4 separate regions of the Homo sapiens genome follow, and regions 2, 3 and 4 are each linked to region 1. Evidence: promoter capture Hi-C in human tissues and cell types (Jung and others, 2019). All regions are on one chromosome and are shown on one strand. Each heading gives the region's core, a stretch centred on a gene start or on the middle of the fragment in contact. The rest is flanking DNA. Distances are from core to core; before and after follow the strand shown.

What was found. The method cuts DNA at HindIII sites, captures the fragments that hold promoters and counts their contacts. A contact is called where the count stands out against the background at its distance.
Region 2: a contact is called between a fragment that was not itself captured here and the fragment with the promoter of LYZL2 in region 1, in 1 of the 25 tissues and cell types used here (mesenchymal stem cells).
Region 3: a contact is called between a fragment that was not itself captured here and the fragment with the promoter of LYZL2 in region 1, in 4 of the 25 tissues and cell types used here (adrenal gland, aorta, liver and 1 more).
Region 4: a contact is called between a fragment that was not itself captured here and the fragment with the promoter of LYZL2 in region 1, in 4 of the 25 tissues and cell types used here (aorta, lymphoblastoid cells, spleen and 1 more).

Annotation. Positions count from the first base shown.
Region 1 is chr10:30,628,500-30,631,199 of GRCh38, forward strand. It overlaps LYZL2 (lysozyme like 2), which reads right to left and starts at 1,254. Exons shown (of 5, transcript NM_183058.3): 1 at 1,094-1,254. The HindIII fragment of the contact is 10,435 bases long and covers 1-2,700 here.
Region 2 is chr10:30,592,610-30,595,309 of GRCh38, forward strand. No RefSeq gene overlaps it. Among named protein-coding and RNA genes, the nearest start is that of LYZL2, 36 kb to the right of the region's middle. The HindIII fragment of the contact is 8,147 bases long and covers 1-2,700 here.
Region 3 is chr10:30,664,725-30,667,424 of GRCh38, forward strand. No RefSeq gene overlaps it. Among named protein-coding and RNA genes, the nearest start is that of LYZL2, 36 kb to the left of the region's middle. The HindIII fragment of the contact is 3,953 bases long and covers 1-2,700 here.
Region 4 is chr10:30,684,330-30,687,168 of GRCh38, forward strand. No RefSeq gene overlaps it. Among named protein-coding and RNA genes, the nearest start is that of LINC02644, 37 kb to the right of the region's middle. RefSeq lists an enhancer at 1-152. The HindIII fragment of the contact is 9,414 bases long and covers 1-2,839 here.

The DNA.
Region 1 (2,700 bases), core at 4-2,503:
ACTGATTTTCCACAATCTCCTCCCCTCTTAAAATAATGTCTTCCCCAAACACAACAGCCTTGCTGGGATGGGGTGAAGTGAAATTTCTGACAACTACTCGGGATCCTGAACTTGATGTTCTTACATATGTTCATCCCGTGTCATTTTCTGCACTTGCCTGGAAACTTCTCTAGTCATTAGTTTCTCTCCCTGGGGCTGGATTCCTGCATTGAAAGGCTAGGCCCAAAACAGGGATAAGTAGTCATCAGCAAGGCCACCGCACCGAGTAACAAGCAGGGCTTTAAGGTGACTAAGCAATAAGATAAGGAACTGCATTGCATGAGGGGCATGTACATTACAAACGTGAATAGCAAGCGTGGGCAAACCAGGCCCGCTTTTGTATGTAAAGTTTTATTGAAACATAGCTACTCTCATCATTTGGTAATATATTGTTGGTGGCTGATTTCCTGCTGCAGTGGCAGAGTTGAGTAGCTGTGTTAGAGGCTGTATAGACCACAAAGCCTAACATATTATTATCTGGCCCTTTTCAGAGAGATCATGCCAGTCCGTGGTGTACAGCATTGTGCTAAGCTGTGAGGGACAGACAAACGAGGTTTAAGATGCAGAGCTTAGGCTGGGCATGGTGGCCCACACCTGTAATCTCAGCACTTTGTGAGGGTGAAAAGGGCAAATTGCTTGAAGCCAGGAGTTTGAGACCAGCCTGGGCAACAAAGGTAGACCTCTGTCACTACAAAATACACAAAAATTAGCCAGGCATAGTGGTGTGTGACTGTGGTCCCACCTGTTTGGGAGGCTGAGGTGGGAGGATCTTTTAAGGCTGGGAGGTTGAGGCTGTTGTGAGTTGTGATTGTGCCACTGCACTCCAGCCTGGGCAACAGAGTGACATCCTGTTTCAAAAAAAAAAAAAAAGATGCAGAGCTTACAAATAAGGTTGGTTTCCATCCTCTGCCTTAGAATGTTAACTGATCTCAAACAAGTCAAAACAAAACCCGTAGCAATGATAACCCCAAGCATCATGTTCTACATCCTTCAAGAACCTGCCATTGCTGGTTCTCAGGGACAGGTGGCTTCATAAGAGTAATTTAGGTCTTACTGAAAAGGCAGATTCCTGGTGCCTGCCGCAGAGGCTGACTTCTCAGTTGAGTCTGCGGAAGAAACACTGCTCCACTTAGTCGGTGACAGGCAGCTCAGGGGAGCGTCCTGCATCCCCTGAAGCCATGTCTGATTCTAACAAGGCTCGAGTAATCCTTTCCTAGCTCAAGAACCTTTCTTTAGAGTGTTAGAGAAAGAAAAATTCTTAGTCCTTTGTTTCTCACCACCTAGAGATGCTAGAATTCTACTTCTTGGCACTAAAAGCTATATCATCCTGCACGCTTGTGTTCTGAAGCAGGTGCTAACTCTCTTCTGGGCCTTAATACCTCTCGTTTTTTCTCTTTTCCTCTCAACAACTGTCCTCACTACACAACTTGGCCAGGGCCTCCCGTCCAAGTGAGAGCTCTTCTCTAAGGCAACAGTCTGCAAACTTTATCACAAATTCCATTAATAAAGTTAAGCATGTATCCTCTTTAGATGTATATTAAATTATAAATCACACTTCTGTACCTCTGTACTAATATGCTACATAAATTATCAACATACACAAAACTAAAATCTGAAAATGAATGAGAGGTGAAATTAACATTAAAAATTAATTAACAGCACATTTCTTTGCTATAGTTATATTGTTAATTAATAAAATATTGTCAAAGGAGGGCCACAAAAGAAATAAAAAATTTTTATGTATAATTAACATGATTTCATTGTTTTTTAAAAATTTGGCTTAACACTTTGTGACTCAATAAAGAGCTAGTTTGAAGGTCCATTTATTTCTGTGTTCAGATTTAATGACACATTTGAAATGAATTCTCATTGGAATATGTAGATCTCAGTATAAGTTTGTTGTTAGTTGTACCTAACTAATTATTGTATTTTATTAAATTCCATCTGCAAATAATGCAAAGATCTTGTTGAAATCTAGTTTTAAGTTTATATAGTATTACATTGTGTAGATATAACATATTTAGCCAATTCCATATTGACTCACACTTAAGGTATTTTTTTCTTCTATGATAAACATATTACAATTAGTAATCTTGTACATTTGTCATTTGTACATTTGCAAGAATATCTGTAGGATACATTCCTGGAAATTGAATTGCTGGGTTAAGGACTGTAATTTTGTAATTTTGCTAGATATTGCCAAATTGCCTTCCACGTGGGCTTGTATGACGAAGATGGCTAGCATACCCTATTACCAAAGGTTAAGATATTTGCTAATATTAGAGATGAAACATAATTTGTCAGCAAAGTTTCAATTTCAGCTTCCCTTATTTCAAGCTGTCTGAGCATCTTTTCTTATCTTCAGAAGCCATTTGTGGACTTTTTTCTCTCTCTCTCTCTCTTTTTTTTTTTTTTTAATTGAGACAGAGTCTCCCTCTGTTGTCCAGGCTGGAGCTCAGTAGTGTGATCTCGGCTCATTGCAACCTCCACCTCGCAGGTTGAAGCGATTCTCGTGCCTCAGCCTCCCGAGTAGCTGGTATTACAGGCATGTGCCCCCACGCCCAGATAATTTTTGTATTTTTAGTAGAGATGGTGTTTCACCATGTCTGCCAGACTGGTCTCAAACTCCTGATCTCAAGCAATCTGCTCGCCTCAACCTCC
Region 2 (2,700 bases), core at 39-2,538, 36 kb before region 1:
GATAGCGTGAGAATCTGGTGGCAGATCCCCTTATTCCACAGAGGAAGCGGATAAGGCCGAGAAGGGTGAGGTGAGTACAGGGACAGAGCTGGGTCTGGAGTCCTAATTAGTAAAAAGGAGTCAGGCTGGTGGGAGGAGGGGAAAGCAAAAAGGGGAAACAGGTAAGCTGTAAGTCTGCCTTTCTTCATGGTCCAGACACACAGCCCTCCTGTGCAAATAACTCACAATCTTCCTGTGCCCAGGTATCACCAGACACCTGCAAGTTGGCTCACTGCAACCTTGGCGTTGTCAGTACCACACACAGCCCTCTCCAGCACACAGCACAAGCACCATCCTATAAAATCCCCAGCAAGCCTCTGCCTCCTGGCTGTCAGCTGCTCTTCTGCTGGCTGCCCGTTGCCTTCTTGCAACATATTTTCATGCTTTTTTTAAACAAACAAATCTGCCTTTCTTTATCTACAACTGTCTTGGTAAATTCTTTTACCCCCATGCCACCGGTCCAGATAATTGTGGCTCACCCACAACACTGGTCACTAGAAGAGCTGGGACCAGGGCCCTACTCCCATCACACTTGGCCCAGTGATTCTCCTTCTGAGACTCAAGCTCTTCGAGGTGCAGTTCCAATCACTAGGACACTTTCCTTTCGTTGAGGAACATTGTCTCTGGAAACCACCTGGTAAAAAGAGCAAGTGCAGCACTTTGCTCCCATGCTCAGGTCAGCAGGGAGTGTGGCTCAGCACTCGGGCAGGCTGTCCCCTCCCTCAAGGAGCAGAGACCAGGCTCAGAGGAGAATGTAGAGTGGGCAGAGCTGCTTCAGAAGTTGCGGTCATCAGGGATCAGGGTGGTCTGGAGCCTGTGTCCCTGGTGATGAGTGTAGGGGACCCACATGTGGAAGTTGTGGCCTCTGAAAGGAAAAGCCAGATCCAGCATTTTCCTTAACGGTCACTAATGACCTCTGCACTGCTAGATCCAATGGCCATTCCTCTGTCCTCATTGTCCTGGGCTTCAGCAGCTGGGGTGTGTTGATGGTCCCTTCTCTTTCATGATCTTTTTCCCCTTGGCATCCGGACGCCACCTTCTCTTGGTTTTCCTCCTGCTCCTTGGTCACTCTGCCTTCTCTGCTGTGTCATTCGCTGCACCTTAATCTTGTAATGTCACAATATCTTTGGACTTGCAAAAGGAAAATAAAATCCCTGGACCCCAAACTCACCATGCCAAAGGGAAAAGTGAATCTTGGCAACTGAGTTATGCTGAAACAAACAAACAACAAACCAACAACTGCCTTCCTTTTTTTCCTAGATAGCTGTAATTTCACATGCTTACTTTATCTTCTGTAGAATGTAGATTTACTGAGCACAGACAAATGCATAATTGACCTCCCCTTTTCACATGTAAAATGTGGATTCAGTGTGTACTAATCAGTGTTCTTTTTGCCAACCCTCCCTTTTTTTCCTTTCCTCCTTCCTCTCCTGCCCATTCTTTCCCTTTTAAACACTGAAGTTGTCAAAACCCTCTTTGGACAAAAGCACAGGCTACATATGTTCCTGTAACCTGCGTGTGTGTGTGTAATTTTTTCCTGAGCTCATCCTCAACCTTGGCAAAATAAACCTCTAAATCAGTTGAGATTTGCTGCAGTTCCTTCTTGGTTTCCAGCCTCATCACTTCCTCATCTCCCCACTGAGGCCTTATCCTGTCCCTTGTCTTTAAACATCTGTTTATCTACACATAACAACCCCTGCATGTCCATTGCCAGCCCTGAACTTTCTCCCAAAGTGCACACACATTCGTCCAAGTCCCTCCTTGAGATGGTGGCTTGGATGTCTAGGAGACGTCACACCGATGTGTCCAAATTTCCCCCAGATCTGCTCCGCCCACAGGTTCCCCCATTCCAGGTGTTGGTGGCTCCATTGGTCTAGCTTCCTAGGCTGAACATCCTTGACTCCTCTTTCTCTCACACGGCACACTTAATCCACCAGGAAATCCTGTTGGTTGTATCTTTAAAATACACCCAGAGTCAGACCACTTCTCCCACCTGTCTGCTGCCCCGGGTCACAGTGGCGTCATCATTTCCTGGCTGTGGCAGAACCTAGAACATTCCACCTGGTCTCCTGCTGTGACTCCTGCTACTCCTAAGGGTTCTCTTCAAAACTGCGTCAGGACAATCCTTTCAGAGCAGCTCTCATGGCACTCCTTCTCTCTCTGAGCCCTGCAGTGCTGCCCTTTTCCTTCAGTGCAGAAGCTGGCATCCTTCCCTGGTGTGCCAACCCGGTCCCCTGAGATACAGATGCCCGAGGGGTGGGGGGGGATTCAGTGAGCGAGGCTTTTCCGAGAGCATCTGCCCAAGAGAAGATATCAGGAAGGAGGGAGGAGGCTGAGGGAGGCATCAGGTTGGGATGCAGGTCAGATCTCCAATGCAGGAGAGAGAGGGAGAGTCAGGTGGGACAGTCCCAGGCTGCAGTGAAGCCTCAGGACGTAATCTCTGCAGAGCAGTCTGTGTCTCCCAGGAAAGGGCCTGCCTCATGGCCCCTCTGCGCTGTGCTGAACCTTTCCCATAAGACCCGTGCCAGCGCCATGCTGAATATTTCAATCTGCACCTCCTGCCCCTGCATTCCTAATGCCCCTTGACTGGCTCTTCCTTTCTTCTTCTTGTTATAGCACATCCTGCCTTCTAATGTGCTATACAATCTACTCATTTACTAT
Region 3 (2,700 bases), core at 123-2,622, 36 kb after region 1:
AGGCAGATGAGATTTCATATCAAAAAGAAAATTGGGCCGGGCGCGGTGGCTCACGCCTGTAATCCCAGCACTTTGGGAGGCCGAGGCGGGTGTATTACGAGGTTAGGAGATCGAGACCATCCTGGCTAACTCGGTGAAATCCCATCTCTACTAAAAATACAAAAAATTAGTCGGGCATGGTGGCGGGCACCTGTAATCCCAGCTACGGGAGGCTGAGACAGGAGAATGGCATGAACCTGGTAGGTGGAGCTTGCGGTGAGCCGAGATCGTGCCACTGCACTCCAGCCTGGGCGACAGAGCGAGACTCCGTCTCAAAAAAAAAAAAAATGAAAATTAGGCCAGGTGCGGTGGCTTACGCCTGTAATCCCAGCACTTTGGGAGGCCGAGGCGGGTGGATCACGAGGTCCAGAGTTCAAAAACAGCCTGGCCAAGACGGTGAAACCAGGTCTCTACTAAAAATACAAAAATTAGCTGGGCATGGTGGCAGGCACCTGTAATCCCAGCTACTTGGGAGGCTGAGGCAGCGAATTGCGTGAACCTGGGAGTCAGAGGTTGCAGTGAGCTAAGATTGTGCCATTGCACTCCAGCCTGGGTGACAGAGTGAGATTCTATCTTAAAAAAAAAAAAAGGGCAATATCAAAAAAAAAAAAAGAAAAGAAAATTAATAGTTCACGGTACCTGGAAATGAGGTGGTCCACGCTGTGCTCGCATCGGCTCTCCCCCAGAGTTTTCAAAGGCAAGTCAGTGGCCTCGTGTCCAGGTAGGACAGGTATAGATGGGGCATGGCCTCGTGTCCAGGTAGGACAGGTATAGATGGGGCATGGCCTTGTGTCCAGGTAGGATGGGTGCAGATGGGGAACGGCTGTGAAGTGGAATGATTCTGTCAATGTTTAGGACTCTCTGTGAAAGACAAAAAACCCAATTTTCTTATTTCTTTTTATTTTAATTTATTTATTTTGAGACAGAGTCTCTCTCTGTCACCCAGGCCGGAGTGCAGTGGAGTAATCTCGGCTCACTGCAACCTCCGCCTCCCGGGTTCAAGTGATTCTCCTGCCTCAACCACCCAAGTAGCTGGGATTACAGGCATGCACCACCACATCCAGCTAATTTTTGTATTTTTAGTAGAGACGGGGTTTCACCATGTTGGCTAGGCTGGTCTGGAACTCCTGACCTCAGGTGATCCTCAGCCTCAGCCTCCCATAGTGCTGTAATTACAGGCATGAGCCACTACACCCAGCCTAAACCACAGATTTTTACAATTTATCTGTGATAGCTTTTTCCTAAATGAGACTTTCATCTCTCCCTTTTGTGAAAATGAAATAATGAAGCTTAAACTATTTAAAATAAGAATGTTATTCCTACATTTGGGCTTTACTTTTCTTTCTTGAGAAAGAAATATATAAAATCATAGGACTTTCAAACTTTATTCTACACACCTCTGACTGCCTCATTTTACTAAAGGAGGGATTCGGCTCCAGTAGCCTCCAGGGCCACGTAGTGAATAGAACTGACCCAGGTGCCACGTCTCCATCTCTCCCCTGGTCCATGGCGAGACCGTGGTGTGCTCAGATTAGTGTTACAGCAGCCAACCCCGTGTGCTCTAAACAGGAGAATATGGTAAAAGGACAGAAATTCCAGCTAGACAGCAAGTTAGAAAAACACACCCTCTTTCTTCATGAATTTTCTCAGTTCACATGCTCTTAACAGGGCTTATTTAAAATTACACATCCACATTCACATTTCAGAGTCTAAGAAATAGAGCCTGGAATTTACAGATTTCCTTTATCGTTTTTTATAAATGGCTGCGCCCGCTAAGGAGGGCAGGTCTGTCTTCTTCAGCCTTGTTGCGTCAGTCTCTCCCCTGTCCGGGGCCTGACTATATTGAATGCTCCATGCTCAGTGCTACCCAGCATCACAGACTGCCTTCCACATTTTGCACGATATCTCATTTGATGTTGAAGACAGCCTTCAGAAGAAAGCAATATTATCCCCACTTGGAGACAAAAAGTGGAGAAATTAAGAAATTATAGGAAACCCTCCACACCCTCCTTTTTTAGAAAATGTTTGCTGCTCAAGAAAATATACCAAAAAGTTATTTTTCTGTTTTCATCTTTTCTGACATTGTGAATGTCAAATTTGAACCATAACCAGCATAAAACATAGGATGCAACCGACTTTCCCACTGGATTAGTAAAATCGTTGTTTTATAACTGTCTAAATTATTTGTGTTTAAATTATCCCTGTTTGGGAACTTCTTTGAGAAAGATTGTGAATTAAATAATTCTTACGTTATTTAGGGATAAAACCTTTACTATTGCTTAAAGAGTACATTAGGCCTTTAGAAATCTTATTTCCACAATGTCAGAAACAGTGGCATCTGAGCTTTCTTATTTGGCGAAGAAGAACATTGGAAAAGAATACAAGAGCCATTGTTTCACTTTGGGAAGTTGGTGGCGTGTTAGGACTTCGTGGAACTCCCTGAACTGTTGAAGAATCCACCTCACACCTCTGTGGCGTTCTGCCCTAGAGGGACCGGCTGGAGGCTCCTGTGTTTCCTGCCTGCCGGCCCCCACCCCAACCATCCACCCTTCCATATCCCACCCAGCCAGAGGCTATCTCCATGTCTCCACAAACGCCAGGTTCTTACCTTGTAGCTGGGATATTTCAGCCACCTAGAGGGCCCCAGATTTATGTGGGAAT
Region 4 (2,839 bases), core at 91-2,590, 56 kb after region 1:
CCCCAATACACATCACTCAGTGGCGTGAGTCCTGTCCTCTGCCTCCATCGCTGCTCCTCTCCCTCCCTCCTCAGTCCCATCTCCTCATCCTAGGCCTGTCCTGAGCCCCTCCTCCTTTCCTGATACCCTTTGAGTCCCCTGTAGCTTCTTCCCCTTCCCCTCCTGCCACATCCCCAACCACAAGCTTAATGAGCATCACCAATGGCTTGGAAATGGAAGAAGCAGATCTCTCCAGAAATTTTCCAATTAGAAACTGCTGAGAGCATTTTACGTAGAAATGTTACCGTGCATGTAGGTTTTTTCTACAGCATAGTTCACCCTCAACATCAGATGTCTCACAGTTTAAAGCCACTTCTGTGGGCTCTCCTGGTTGTCTACCTGCCCGCAGAACATCAGTGGCTGCAGGAAAAACCAAGCAGAGTGCCAGAAAACCTCCTGCCCCTTATTCCTAACCAGCCTTCCCTGTCTCTAACTGGGCAAGTTCCTCGTGTGCTCACATGGATAAAGTTTTCTAGATCAATCATGTTCTTTGTGAGTATATAGGGATAAAAATCTCCCAGTTAACTGAGTTTAACTAGATGGGTTAAGACAGAGAAACTTTAAAACCCTGTAGAGTCCAGGGCATGAAAACAATCTATTTTTAATTGTTTGTGTTTACAAAGAATTGTTCTGGTGCTCCAGTGCCCCAAACCGGTAAGTCACAGGACAGAGGCGTTCATCTAAAGTTACAGCATCGCCAATGGTGATCTCCCACCCAACCTGCACGTAAGGAAGCTGAGCCCATTTCAGATAGAACATTTTTGAACATCTTTGGACAATATACTTACTCCTCTTTGTCTACCTGCTTTTTTCACGCATGAAATGCTGCAGGCTGAGATCCACACCGCTGTCATTTCTCTCTCCTGTTTTCTCTTCTGTACATTTATGAACAGCGGGTCACAGAAAGTCGAGAGAGCCAAATGATGATTGAGGAGAGGAAGCAGCTCATCACTGTGAGAGAGGAGGCCTGGAAGACGAGAGGCAGAGGAGCGGCCAACGACTCGACCCAGTTCACTGTGGCTGGCAGGATGGTGAAGAAAGGTCAGTTGTGTGTGTGTGCCTGTGTATGTGTGTGGTGTGTGCACAATGCACACATGTGAGCACACTCACCCATGGAGGGCATGGTGGTACACGATAGCTCAATTTAAAAGAAGAAACCATGGTCTCTTTAATTTTTTTTTTTTTTTTAAGATACAAGGTCTTGCCCTGTTGCCTAGGCTGGAGTGCAGTGGCTCAGTCATGGCTCACTGCAGCCCCAAACTCATGGGCTGAAGCAATCTTCCCACCTCAGCTTCTCTAGTTGCTGGGACTACAGGTGTGCAACACCATGCCTGGCTTTTTAAAACTTTTATGTAGAAATGGGGTGTCACTGTGTTTCCCAGGCTGGTCTCAAACTCCTGGGCTTAAGTGATCCTTCCGCCTCAGTCTCCCAAGTAGCTAGGACTACAGGCGTGAGACACCCTGTCCAGCTTTCTTTAAAAAGTTTTAAACTTACTGACATTCTGTACATGTTTTTTGGGTAGGTTCTGTGAGATAGTCCTACTGAATATCTTTTTGTCATAAATAGTGTCATCTTCAAATGCATAATTTAATTTGTCACTATTTCAAAACTTACCCCTTTAGAATTGAATGCAATTGTAGGTTTCAAAAGCAATTCAGGTCTGCTAGCAAATCTTGGTCCTTTCCCATAATTACTTTTAAATCGTTTCCATTTTCTTGTGACCTGGCAACCACTTACCCCAAGTCAGCCTTTCACAATAGAGAAGTTTGTCTCCTCTTCCTTTTATATTAATTCCTGGGTCCTTCTCCATCAAACCTGATTTCTCTGACTGACCAAAGTCAATCCTGGATATGCTTTAATAGATGTCTAAAATATGTCCTCAGTTCCAAGGCAGTGGGATGTCTCTGGGGCAGTCCATTCTTTGCTGCTGAGCTCTTGGAACTGATTTGTTGTCTGTATTCAAACATTTATGAAATTGACTTACATATGAAATACTTAGTAAAGTCATCTGAGAGCTTTAAGTCTTCATAGGAGTGTTTGGGGCTTTGTTTCATGTCCTGCAGGAAATCGTTAAAATTTGGGGTCCCTTTGTCACCTATATGCACATACCATCATTTTCTAAGCTATTATTTAAAAGCAGATTTCCCAACTTAGTGGTAAACATTTTCACATTCACTTTGTCTTAACATCTTGTCATCAACTTTATAGGCTTAGCTTTCCTTTTTCTCAGAACCTTTAGGGGTCCATGCTTTCATGAATAGTACCTAATTCATTATAGGTACATAATAAATGTTTGCAGAAGGAAAGGAGGGGAAATCCCTGAATTGTAAATAACTCAAATCTTAGTGGGGAATCCCTTCCAATACATCTCTTCAGCCTCATCTTGGAATTGTGAAAAGATGAGAGAAGATAATTTACTCTTACAGTAAATTATTTGCCAATTTTCTGCATCAGATCACAGAACTGGACACTCATGTTTAAACTCCTTTAACGTGAGCCCCAACCCTTCTTTAACAGAAGCACGTCGTTAGGTGCAGGGTGACTAAGTAGAACTGGAACTGAGAACCTGAACCAGACCTCAGGTTTTCCAACTTCTAGCCCAGACTTTCATCTTGATGACTTTCTGCTTTGGTTTCTTTTTTCCTCTTCCATCTTAAAAATCTGAATTTATTTGTAAGTGGGTTCTTACTACCAAATGCCACTGCCCTTGTCCACATTGACATCAGAGGATATAGATTTGCTCTTATTCAGGTTTGTGGAAGCAACAGTTCCCATTTCTCGGTGGATGAGTTCGCTTTC